2 separate regions of the Homo sapiens genome follow, and region 1 is linked to region 2. The links are contacts of gene promoters, found by promoter capture Hi-C in human tissues and cell types (Jung and others, 2019). All regions are on one chromosome and are shown on one strand. The core of a region is centred on a gene start or on the middle of the fragment in contact, and the rest is flanking DNA. Distances in the headings are between cores, read along the strand shown.

Region 1 (5,344 bases), core at 83-2,582, 190 kb after region 2:
CTTAGCCATTATTACTTAAAATATTTCTTCTGTTTCTTTCTCTTCTTTTTTCTCTTTCTGGCATTCTCATTACACATATATTGCATCATTGTCCTACAGTTTTATAATTGTCCCATAGTTCTTGGATATTCTATTCCTTTTTATTTCATTCTTTTTTCTCTTTACTCTTCATTTTGGAATTTTCTGTTGACATATCTTCAAGCTCACAGCTTCTTTTCTAACCTGTGCTCAGTCTACTGATGATCTACTGAAAGCAGGCTTCATTTCTGTTATAGTGGGTTTATTTTCTATTTTATGGCAAAACATACACAATATAAAATGTATAATGTTAACCATTTTTAAGGGTACATTGCAGTGGCAATAAGTACTTCACAATGTGTGGAATCATCACCACTGTCCATCTCCAGATCTTTTTCATCATCCCAATGGAAACTCTGTTTATTAAAGAGTTCCAGAGTCTCAGTCTCCCTTTTTCCAGCCCCTGGTAACTTCTATGTTCTGTCCTTATGAGTTTGCCTATTCTACATACCTTACATAAGTAGAATAACACAATATTTGTCTTTTTGTATCTAATTTTGATTTCTATCTTGGACATTGTGAATGTTGTGTTATGGAGACTGGATTCAATTATAATCCTCTTAAGAATGTTGGCAATTTTATTTTGGTTGCCAGTGAAGTTTGTTAGACTTAAACTTGCAAACTATGCCTCTTGGCAGTTACTCAAATCTCCATTCAGTTGTTTTATCCTTAGGTGGTTTGCTTGCAGACTACCCACCCATGCACAGTTCAGGGCTTAGCTAGAGATTCAGGCAAAAGTTTGCACACAGATTTTGGGCTCTTTCCCTCTGGGTCGCTACTTTTTAGCCTTCCTCCTATATAATCAAGTGACCATGGTTACCCTGAAGTCTGTTCTCCTAGACTTCTGTTTTTTCATTAGAGTTTTAGCTTCTCTTTACCGACAGACTTCAGCATGACTGATTTGGGACTAAATGCCATAAAAAGGGAAAAGCAACCCCTTACCAGTTTCTTTTCTCAAGTGTCAGCTTCCTTTCAGAATCTACTTGCTTTTGTTATTCTCCAGAATCTTCAGGTAGTTTTTCATTCTATTTTGTCCAGAGTTTTATTTATATATAGGGGGGAGGGGGGTTAATTGCTAATCTAATTAGCAATTTCCTTTTATTACTTTTGAAAACAGACACAATAAGTAATAGTATCTGAGTAACTCTTCAGCTTACCAAACCTCCCTGAAGTTAATAATCAGCTGGGATGCATATTATATATGCAGATTACCATTCTCCTCCTATGGAAATTCTGATTAAGTAATTCTGAATTGGGAACCAGTAATTTGTTCTTTTAGTTAGAGGTTGCAAGTGACTCTTATTTTTAGGGATGTTCGGGCAAACATTATGTTAGACCCTTGCTACCCAAAATGTGGGAGTTTGTTAGAAGTGTAAAATCTCGGCCTTCTCCCAAATCATACAGAATGTGAATTCATATTTTGACAAGACGCTAGATGATTTATAGGAACATTGAACTTGCAGAAGTGGTAGTTTGGGCTACTATGACTTTTTAATGTCGAATATGAAATGCTCAGTGATTTTTTTCCATTATGTATTCACTCATCAAATACTTTTGGTGATAAATAAAATAAACATAAATCCTGCCTTTATGGTCAACAGCCAATAAATTTAAAAAAAGCACATTAATCACTATTATAGCCTGCAAAGTGCTATAAAGGAAACAAATATGGTGAAAAGATATAGGCCAGTGATTCTAAAATTTCATGCAATTTAGAATCACCTGGGGGTATTTTAAAAATTAAATGCCAAGACTTTACCCCAGACAAATTAAATCAGAATTTTTGGGGAGGAGATGCAGGCATCAATGTTTTTAAAAAACCTCAGATGATTCCAATGTACAGCCAAGTTTGAGAACCAATTATACAGGGCTAGTTGAGAATCACTAGAAAGGTCAAGAAACGTCTCATTTGTTCTGAGACTTGAAGGGTAAGTAGGTATGTAAAGACTCAAGGGAACGGCATTCCTGGAGGTGGGATCAGCAGGTACATAAATCTCAAGAAAGAAATAAGCTTGATGTATTTGAGGAACTGAAAGTGACAATGTGGTTTGAGGTATAATGAGTAAAATAGAGAAAGGCATAAAGTTGAACAAAGCCAACAATGTCTGTTTGCATCCATAGGCCATATAAAGGGTGTTTGGCACACATGGAACTATCAATTTTAGATATGTTAAAAATTTGTCACAAGTGTTAGGGGAATTTTGAATTAATAATAGCTGCAATGGATGGCATAGTGTGTTGATTTTTATCCAGGCTCCCTCTATCTGGCTCAGTGAGAGATTGTCTAAGCTTGGGGTTTTTACATGCGGCTAGTTTCTTATACTCTATTTTTTTACTGAATTAGAAAATCCCAACTTGTCATCAAGAATGGCAGCAAGGGATTGATGGTTCAGGTAGATGATTTTGGATGTTCTAATGGAACATGGACAGAGAAATTATAGCATAGTTGCTTGATAAAGATTACATTAAAGTTGCATTAGACTCTAAGTCAGCAAGCCTTCCATTGCTTTTTCTGAGACCTCATCTAGTTAGTTGTCCATATCCTATGTTGGTCTGGCAACTGGGCTTCATTTCTTGTAGTAGGTAATTTATAGTTTGTTAATAAGCAACAATTCAAGGTTTAGTTTTTGTTACATCTACTGTTCAAATTTACATGGATCGGTACCAGGCTGAAATGTTCACAGACTTTCCCTTTGTAAACTGCCTGCTATGCTCATAGAGACCTGGAGTGGGACTATCAGGAGACAGTGGCTGTGAATCCCTCATCATCAGTTCCCTGGACACTGGTGGGTGTCACTAGCCATACCTGGGCCATCAGCAGTGATGGCCACATCACAGCACCCTTTCCATCAACAATTCCTGATAGATAGGCCATGAATTCCACAGGAACTGGCTCATTTTTGCTCTCACAAGGAACTCTGCTGGCTACCTCATGTTGTCTTCCATTTTTGTTCTCTTCTGCTATAGTCTAGCTTATTGTTGTTGAGTCTATTGTTTAAAAATTATTTCCTGAGTAAATAGTATTAGTATTAAAGTGACTTGATGTAAGGAAAATGAATGTGCTGCAGTCAAGGGTAGGCCAAGGTGGCCTTCCAATGTAGCATGACTCAATGGGTTTGGAGTGCAGGTGCACAACTCTGCACATTATGAAACCACACCATGTGAGGCACATTAGGTGATCACCCATGTGAGCTTGTGCTTGGCTCGGAGCCACTGTTGTCTGTAAATGGTATAATTACCCTGCTAACGCTGTACATATGGGTTATGCCCAGGCTCACTCCCAGAGAGAGAATGTACTTATGGCTTGCACCCAGGTTGGCTTGAGGCCAGGCTCATGGCCAGGCTCGTGCCCAGGTTTATGCCCACAGCTTGCACCTGGGCTTGCTCACACCCAGAGAGAGTAAAAGCCATGTTGAAACTGTTTATGATTCCTTGAGTATTCTTCCAGCTACCTGCCACTGGTCTACCCACTCCCCTCAGTCCTCAGCTTGGGCTGGAACCTGACACTTGGCCTAACACTTGGTCGAAGGGCATGAATTTTATTTCAAGATTCAAATCAAATTGCTGAATTTCTTTGATGAATTTTCACATTAATCAGAGACATATAAATCCTTATTTCATGATAGTATTATCATTTACAACTCTTTGACAGTCTAACAAAATAACACAGCACTCACTTGGTTGTATTAATCTTCAGTTCTTTATGGTTTAGTAAGATGGATTTTTAAAAATATACTGTTGGGACATGTTTTTTTTTTTTTTTTGTCTTTTGCCCATTTTCCTCGTAGGTTATTTGTCCCATTATTTATAAGAATTATTTATGATGAAAATACAAATGAACTGTCACATTTTACAAATATTTTCTCTTTGCGCTATTATACTTAAAATTTTATTTATGGCACTTTTGGCATATTAATGTTGTTTAAAAATTGTTTATAATAAACTGTACTACTATTTTCCCTTATGATTTCCTTGTTTTTGTTTAACAAGTATTTACCTGGAGATAAAAGAAAATATTAAGTTTTTACCTTCCAATTTTTTGGCTTATACTTATCTTTTAATTTTCACATAGGGAATTGATTTGTTTCATAGTGAGAGGTTTTGTAGTTATCTTCATATAAGTATAAAATTGTATGATTTAATTGTTGATGTTCCTTTCTCATTCCTGACTATAACGAGAATACCTCTAGCATTTTCCTATTTGGCCTGATGGGGGCTTATAGGTTGAAGTAGCCATATTTTAATTCATGAGCATTTTAGTGGAATGCAGGGAGGTGATTCAGTTTTATTTCATCTATTACTAGTATAACCCAGAAACCTGATAGATGTAAATGTATACAAGGGCTGTTTCCCTGATTTACAGTTGGGTCTGATTTCTAAGCACAATTTTAAAAACATGTTTTTTTAAGGGGAAAAAAGGGACATATAAGTGGAAGCAGATATTCATGAAATATAAACTACTAGGCAAAGAGAGAAGCTTTCTGTTTTATCTGTTATAAAGAAAGTCTCATGTGATGTAGCCAGGTGAAAAATTACACAGATTAATGAGTAAGACCTTTTTCATTTTTAAGCTGCTTATTTCACAGCACCACACAGACCACATCAACTCTGGTGATCAGACCCATTTTGGGTAGTCTACTAGGAAAATGATTGTTAGTGGCATATACATTTATTTGAATTTAGAGTTCATACTGTAGTCATAAGTCAATTCAAAACCAGGAGATACCTTGCTATATTTATCCTTATAAACTTTGATCTTGTTATAAACCAAATGGTTTCCAAGAAAAGTAAGACAAAGATATACTTTATGGTTTTGTGGATACGCATGTCATACTTTGGCTGGCCACTGCATTTTGACCAGTCATTCTATATTTAGGGGCATTCCCACTTGAGTCCTACCTCTCCAATGTAGGAATTAGAATTCAGCTTACCAGCCTTTTTTGAACTAGGATGATGGCATGTGACTTGGCCCACCCATACACTCCTCTTCTGAAAGTAGCTGAGGTGTGGTTTTGCTTCCCATGGAGGAGTCTGAGTGGAATGAAAAGGCAGCAGCTTTCAGAGACAGCAGTGGTGGCTGACAGTGGGGTCCCGTGCCCAGGACTGGGACTGCAGTAAGTCTGCGGTTCCTGGCTGCTTAGTACCAAGTCCCATCCCTTTGTCTTCTTAGGGATTTTGGAAAAAGTTACCTAATACTCTCCAAGAAATTGCTTTTCTGCTTAAGCTAGTTACAGTACACCCTATGCTTTGTGACTGACAGCCCTAA
Region 2 (5,346 bases), core at 1,690-4,189:
ATTTTCATGTGTTTATTTGGTAACACATGCTTCAGAATTACTCTGGGTAAGAACTTTGAAATTGTACAAAGAGACTACTTGATTCTAGGGAACCTAGAATAAAGTATCGAAATGTGATTTTTGTGAAAGTTTTGAGGAGATGTTAACTTGGATTTTAGGTATCAGATGAATTGAAGGCATGAGTATTTTAGCAATGAAACAAATAAAAGGAAACTTTGATTGATTGGGGTGTGTTATTTTTTTTAAAGTCTGTGCAGTTAGTTTGAATTTTGCCTTCCAGGAGGTATTGCTTAATAACTAAGGGCATCTGTAATTTTCGTATATTTCTGGTTTTGAAAATGATCAGTAGAATATAATTTAGACTATTAAGAATGTAATGCTATGCATAAATTGAATTTAAATGGAGTGGAATGGCTTTTAATTAAAATAGAAGTTTGTATTCTCTGAATTTGCCTTTTGCCTTTTAGAATATCATTTACAGTATTTGGGGGCTTTCAAATTTTGTTTGTCAGTGTCATGGTTTACTTTAAGCCATGCTGATCAGTATATAGAGGATGTGCATGTGGCTTAGTGACAAAACCTAAACTTCTGCCAAGGTTTCCCTGTTTTCTTAGTTCTGTGATCTTGAGCAGTTCACCTTTTTGCATCTTTCCTAAATTGTAGAATAGGGATGCAGTATCAAATATATAATTAAGAGGACCAAATGAAATATTTGTGTACACGAGTATATTAGGAAATTGCTCTTTAAGAATAAAAAAGAAGTGTTCATTGGCCCTCCTCATTTCTGGGATTGGTAATATATTGTCTAATTTGGAGAGGTAACTAGACTTTAGGTTTTTTAATTAAAAATTTAATATATTACATAATTTAGTGTACATGTGTAATGAGTACATTAAAACATTAAAATACATTAAAATTTTCTGAAACTATTGTATTTATGCAATATTTTATTATTTCTTAATCTCACTAATTAAAGATATGATTATATACCCAAATGTGATCATTTTCCTTTATGCCTACTAAAATACAAATAAAATGGATTTGATATTTGAGTTTTAGGAAATGATAGTGCTGTCACGCCTTTTAGTAAAGCAAGTACTCTGGCTCTTTCATGCGTTTTTAAAACTTAATGCTTCTTAATTTAAACATCTTTCATATTTTTTCCATTTGATTTCATCTAACACTTTTTTTAGCACTTACTTTGAAACCACATGTCTTCATAAACAAAGATAATACTTAACTTGCACCTTAAGGTATAGATGAACTAGTTGGGACACAATGTATGGTACTACCACATTATATTTGAAATTTTAGCAGTCTCTGTAACTGTAATTTCTGTTAACTGAGACATACTAGTGAGCTAAGGGTAAGTTTAATATAATTTCTGCTCTATCCAGAAGTATGTGTACTTTTTAGAGTAATATGTGATATAGCAAAATTCTGATACAATAAAATAACTCGTGAACACCCAATTTGAAGTGTGAGAATGTAATTTGATAGATATTTGAATAAAAATGCACAAATAACATAAGACACCTACACTGAATGACTTTTATGTACTATCAAAGGAAAAATATGAGTATAGAGATATGGAGACACAATTAGGATACCTCAGTGGTAGACAAAAATTATGTTTTTTTATGTCTTAAGGAAAGCTGCTTACAGAGTTACAAAGTTCTTATTTGTAGTGAGCAATAGAATTAACATTTGTCATAGGAATTGAGAATTTTAGAGATAAATTTTATTTTAACATATATATGAAATATGAAAATCAAAATAAATAAAATATATGTAATTTTCTGTATGCCCTGACAGAGATCTAAGAATGAGGAAACGTTTCATTTACTAAATTGAGGATTGTAACATAAAGAATAGGGTAGAATTCAAACAGAAGTCATAAAATTGATTGTGGCATCTCCATTCCTGGCATTTATTTTATTTTTTCCTTTCTTTCTAAATCCGAGAGAGGAAATGGAGTACCACTGGAGGATAATAACTTGACAAAACTATAGGCATTAATAGGCAGAAATCCATTTAATCAAATTTGTGTGAAAATAAGATAGTTAAGAATATTCGTGTGTCAAAATAACTTTTTAAAGTATCAAATTATTCTCTAACGTCAGATTTTTTGTGTTTGTGAACATTGTTTTAAAATTTCTAAACTTCTTTATGATACAATATTGAATTTAATATCAGTAACTCAATTTATTAATAGCATGGAATTTTTTTAGAAATGTTTGTTAAAAGTTGACTGGACTTTAGAGGGGAAACATCCTCAAGGGCACTTTAAAAGTAGCTTGTATTATATATTCTGAAACTCCATTTCATTATTCACTGTATGAAATTATGATAATATTGGAATAGGCATGCTGATAATGTGCATGTTGTAGTCAAATGACTATTCATATTAGTTCAGATGTAAATAGCTCAGTTCTGCACTGTTTCTCAGCAGAGCAATAAATAACAAAATTAAGTCATTGTTTTTGCATGGAGAAATTAACCACTACTACCAAATATGGTAACATAATTGGAAGATTTTTTAATTGGCAGAAATTCACATTTGAAAAGCAAAATAAAAGTGAAAGATAAATTTAAATGACAAACCAGTAACCAGGATCAAAGATGAATATGACCTTTTTCATTTCAAAGTTGTCTCATTTTTCCTGTCACTAAATGGATAAGCATTTATAAATTTAAGCACTTTGTCATGTCATTTTATTGCCTAAGATTGAACTGATATTCATAAAATTAACTCATTTTAAAAGTTCAGATTATAGAAATTATAGGAATTAAGAATTATAGAAAGTAAGAATTACCAAAGTCAGCGAAATCTGTTTCTTACCTTGGCAGCTGTGATCATCACAGTATAGAGTATTGTGTTGTATGAAGTCTTACGGGTGTTTAGCTGGGGAGTTTTCTGACTCTGTCACCCAGTTTATGGGAACAGTTGCAGTAGGTGGAGGAGAAAAAGTGTTCTAGGGAGGTCTTATGATGTCACATAGGAATTCTGAAGTTTCGATTGGTTAGCCACAGTCTCAGTCTTATCACAACCAAACTTTAGAACTTCTTACTTTAGGTATGGAAAAGTCATTAACACTTTGTGCTTCATCTTTTGTTTTTAATTTAAAACAGTATATGGTAGATAAATGAAAAAAATAAGTAAACTTGAGGTGGTGGAAAGCTTTTGTTAAAGATTCATGCATCTTCAGGCTTAGAGATAATTGAATATTAATGGTGAAGATGTTGAAGAGCTAAAATAGTTACTGCAGGAATTTTAATTATGAGAAAAATAAACACAGGTATAAGCAAAACAACTTTCATTGAATTCTTGCTGCTGTTGCTTTAATACGTGTCTTCATAATGTTAGCTTTTAGTGAAAGTGAAATATTTTTACACAATAAAATTTTATACCTGTTTTCTTATTTTGTTCTTGTTCTTGTGTGTATGGGAGAAGGAGTATGAGAAAATCAGGCTAATTGCTTTTTGTTTTAAAAAATTATTTTTATCTTACAGTTAAAGAACTAATAAATGTATTTAATTCATTTGTGTTTTCTTCAATTAGCAGTTTAACAATATATTTGTGAATAGTAATACTTATATTTAAACTGATACATACAACACCCCCAAAATAGCAATATGCTACTTTAAGTATTTAAGATTTTTTAAAAACAATTGCATTAAATTATTACACAATCTTACCAAATTTTTAATAAACTGATGCAGTATTAAGGGCAACTTTATGGCAAAAAAGAAATAATTACAGATTCCAAATCAGTTACATCTCAGTTAATGAGGCTTTATAGGTTTGATGTGTTGAAATTTAAGTTTTGTAATGTTTTTGAAAGGATGTGCCTCATTTAATCTAGCAGTTGCTTTCCTGAAAATTACTATAAAAATGAGATGCTAGTAAGTGAGATGATATTTTGAACTTCCTAGAACAGTTTATCTTACAGTAGAACTGGGGAAATAATTTTTTTGTAAAGCCGGGCATCATTCTCCTCTTCTCTGTTTATCTAATTTGTTGTCTTAGATGTTAGATTTACTTAAGTCACCACACTCGAAAATATTAATTCTTAAATCTCTTCTTTAATTTTAGAGGAGGTACTTGTAATTTTTAATTTTTTAAATGCTTATGACAGAGTGAACTTAGCCCACTTCACTTTCTTATGGGTAACTAAAATGTGTAGCAGCAGCTGCTTACATGCCCTTAAATGGAAATGATCTTGGCTTCTTCCAAAGAAAGAAAATCCATCTCTAGAGCAAATCATTTGATATTTAAAGAGTCAGCTTAAAACTAACTGAAAAATAATATTTTAGCAAAGATATCCTGTGAACATTGCCAAGGGAAAATTTACAACTTAAAAGTAAAACCCAAGTTAAGGAAATTGCAGAATAATGTTTGATACTTTTCTCAGTGCTACAACCATTTTTCTTTCAATCCTTACATAATGAGGATCTCTCAGTACTATCAGTTACCAATGATGATTGATAATACAAAACCGAGAAGCCTAACGAGGTTTACAGTAATTTGTCAGAGATAACCAGCTGCTAAAGAATAGACAGGATTCAAATCCAGATCTGTCTGTTTATAATTCCTAATCTGTTGGCATGCTGTGGGAAAAAATTATAATTTGAATATAGCTTTCATTAGAGTAGCATATAGTAACTGAGAAATTTTTAAGATGTAAATAGATGCATTCTTGAGCACTGTTAATAGTTTTAGAAAGTCTGCTTTAAGTTTGTCTACCAGTTACACATTCATTTGAAATTTAGGTGATAGATCATTGTTCTGAGAACTTCTCATTCTAAGAAAATAGAATTAGTAATACTTAGTTGGATAAACCAAGAAGCTGCCGTAGACAGAATAAAATATGCCCTAGTTACCACATGTTTATAAGTTTACTTAAAAAGTATACATAGGCATATACACACCTTAGAAGGATACTAACAACTGTGTGTGACACAGTTGGAAAATGGATTCAAAAATTTACTTTTTAGATTGGTACAAGAGTGGGGAGTTTTTGTGTTTACCTTGTTCCTTTGGGTTAGCTAGTGAAGATGACGATGATGGTGATGATCTCATGTGGAACTCTAGGAAGTATTAGATTTTAGTTTTAACTGAACATTGTTTTTAATTGCCCAAACAGAAAGTTGTTTAATAGGAGTATTAATGAGTTATAGTGTTATCAGTAGAGTGTTCCTCAATGATTCCTCAGCTAGAGGCTAGAAAATTTTTTTGAGGTGCTTTGTCACAGTCTTCATTTGGAGTTACACTATAGTTTGAATGTATTTTTGGTCACATGGCTTTATACAAATAACTTTCCTAAGCAGCCTAATCTGTGGAAT

Evidence for each region. Contacts are between HindIII fragments. The study calls those that stand out against the background at their distance.
Region 1: a fragment that was not itself captured here is called in contact with the fragment with the promoter of PLN in region 2 in 1 of the 25 tissues and cell types used here (adrenal gland).

The regions. Positions count from the first base shown.
Region 1 is chr6:118,351,628-118,356,971 of GRCh38, reverse strand. No RefSeq gene overlaps it. Among named protein-coding and RNA genes, the nearest start is that of PLN, 190 kb to the left of the region's middle. The HindIII fragment of the contact is 7,661 bases long and covers 1-5,162 here.
Region 2 is chr6:118,545,889-118,551,234 of GRCh38, reverse strand. PLN (phospholamban) reads right to left here and starts at 2,939. Exons shown (of 2, transcript NM_002667.5): 1 at 2,843-2,939. All of the region lies in intron 3 of CEP85L (centrosomal protein 85L), which reads left to right. The HindIII fragment of the contact is 9,299 bases long and covers 1-4,606 here.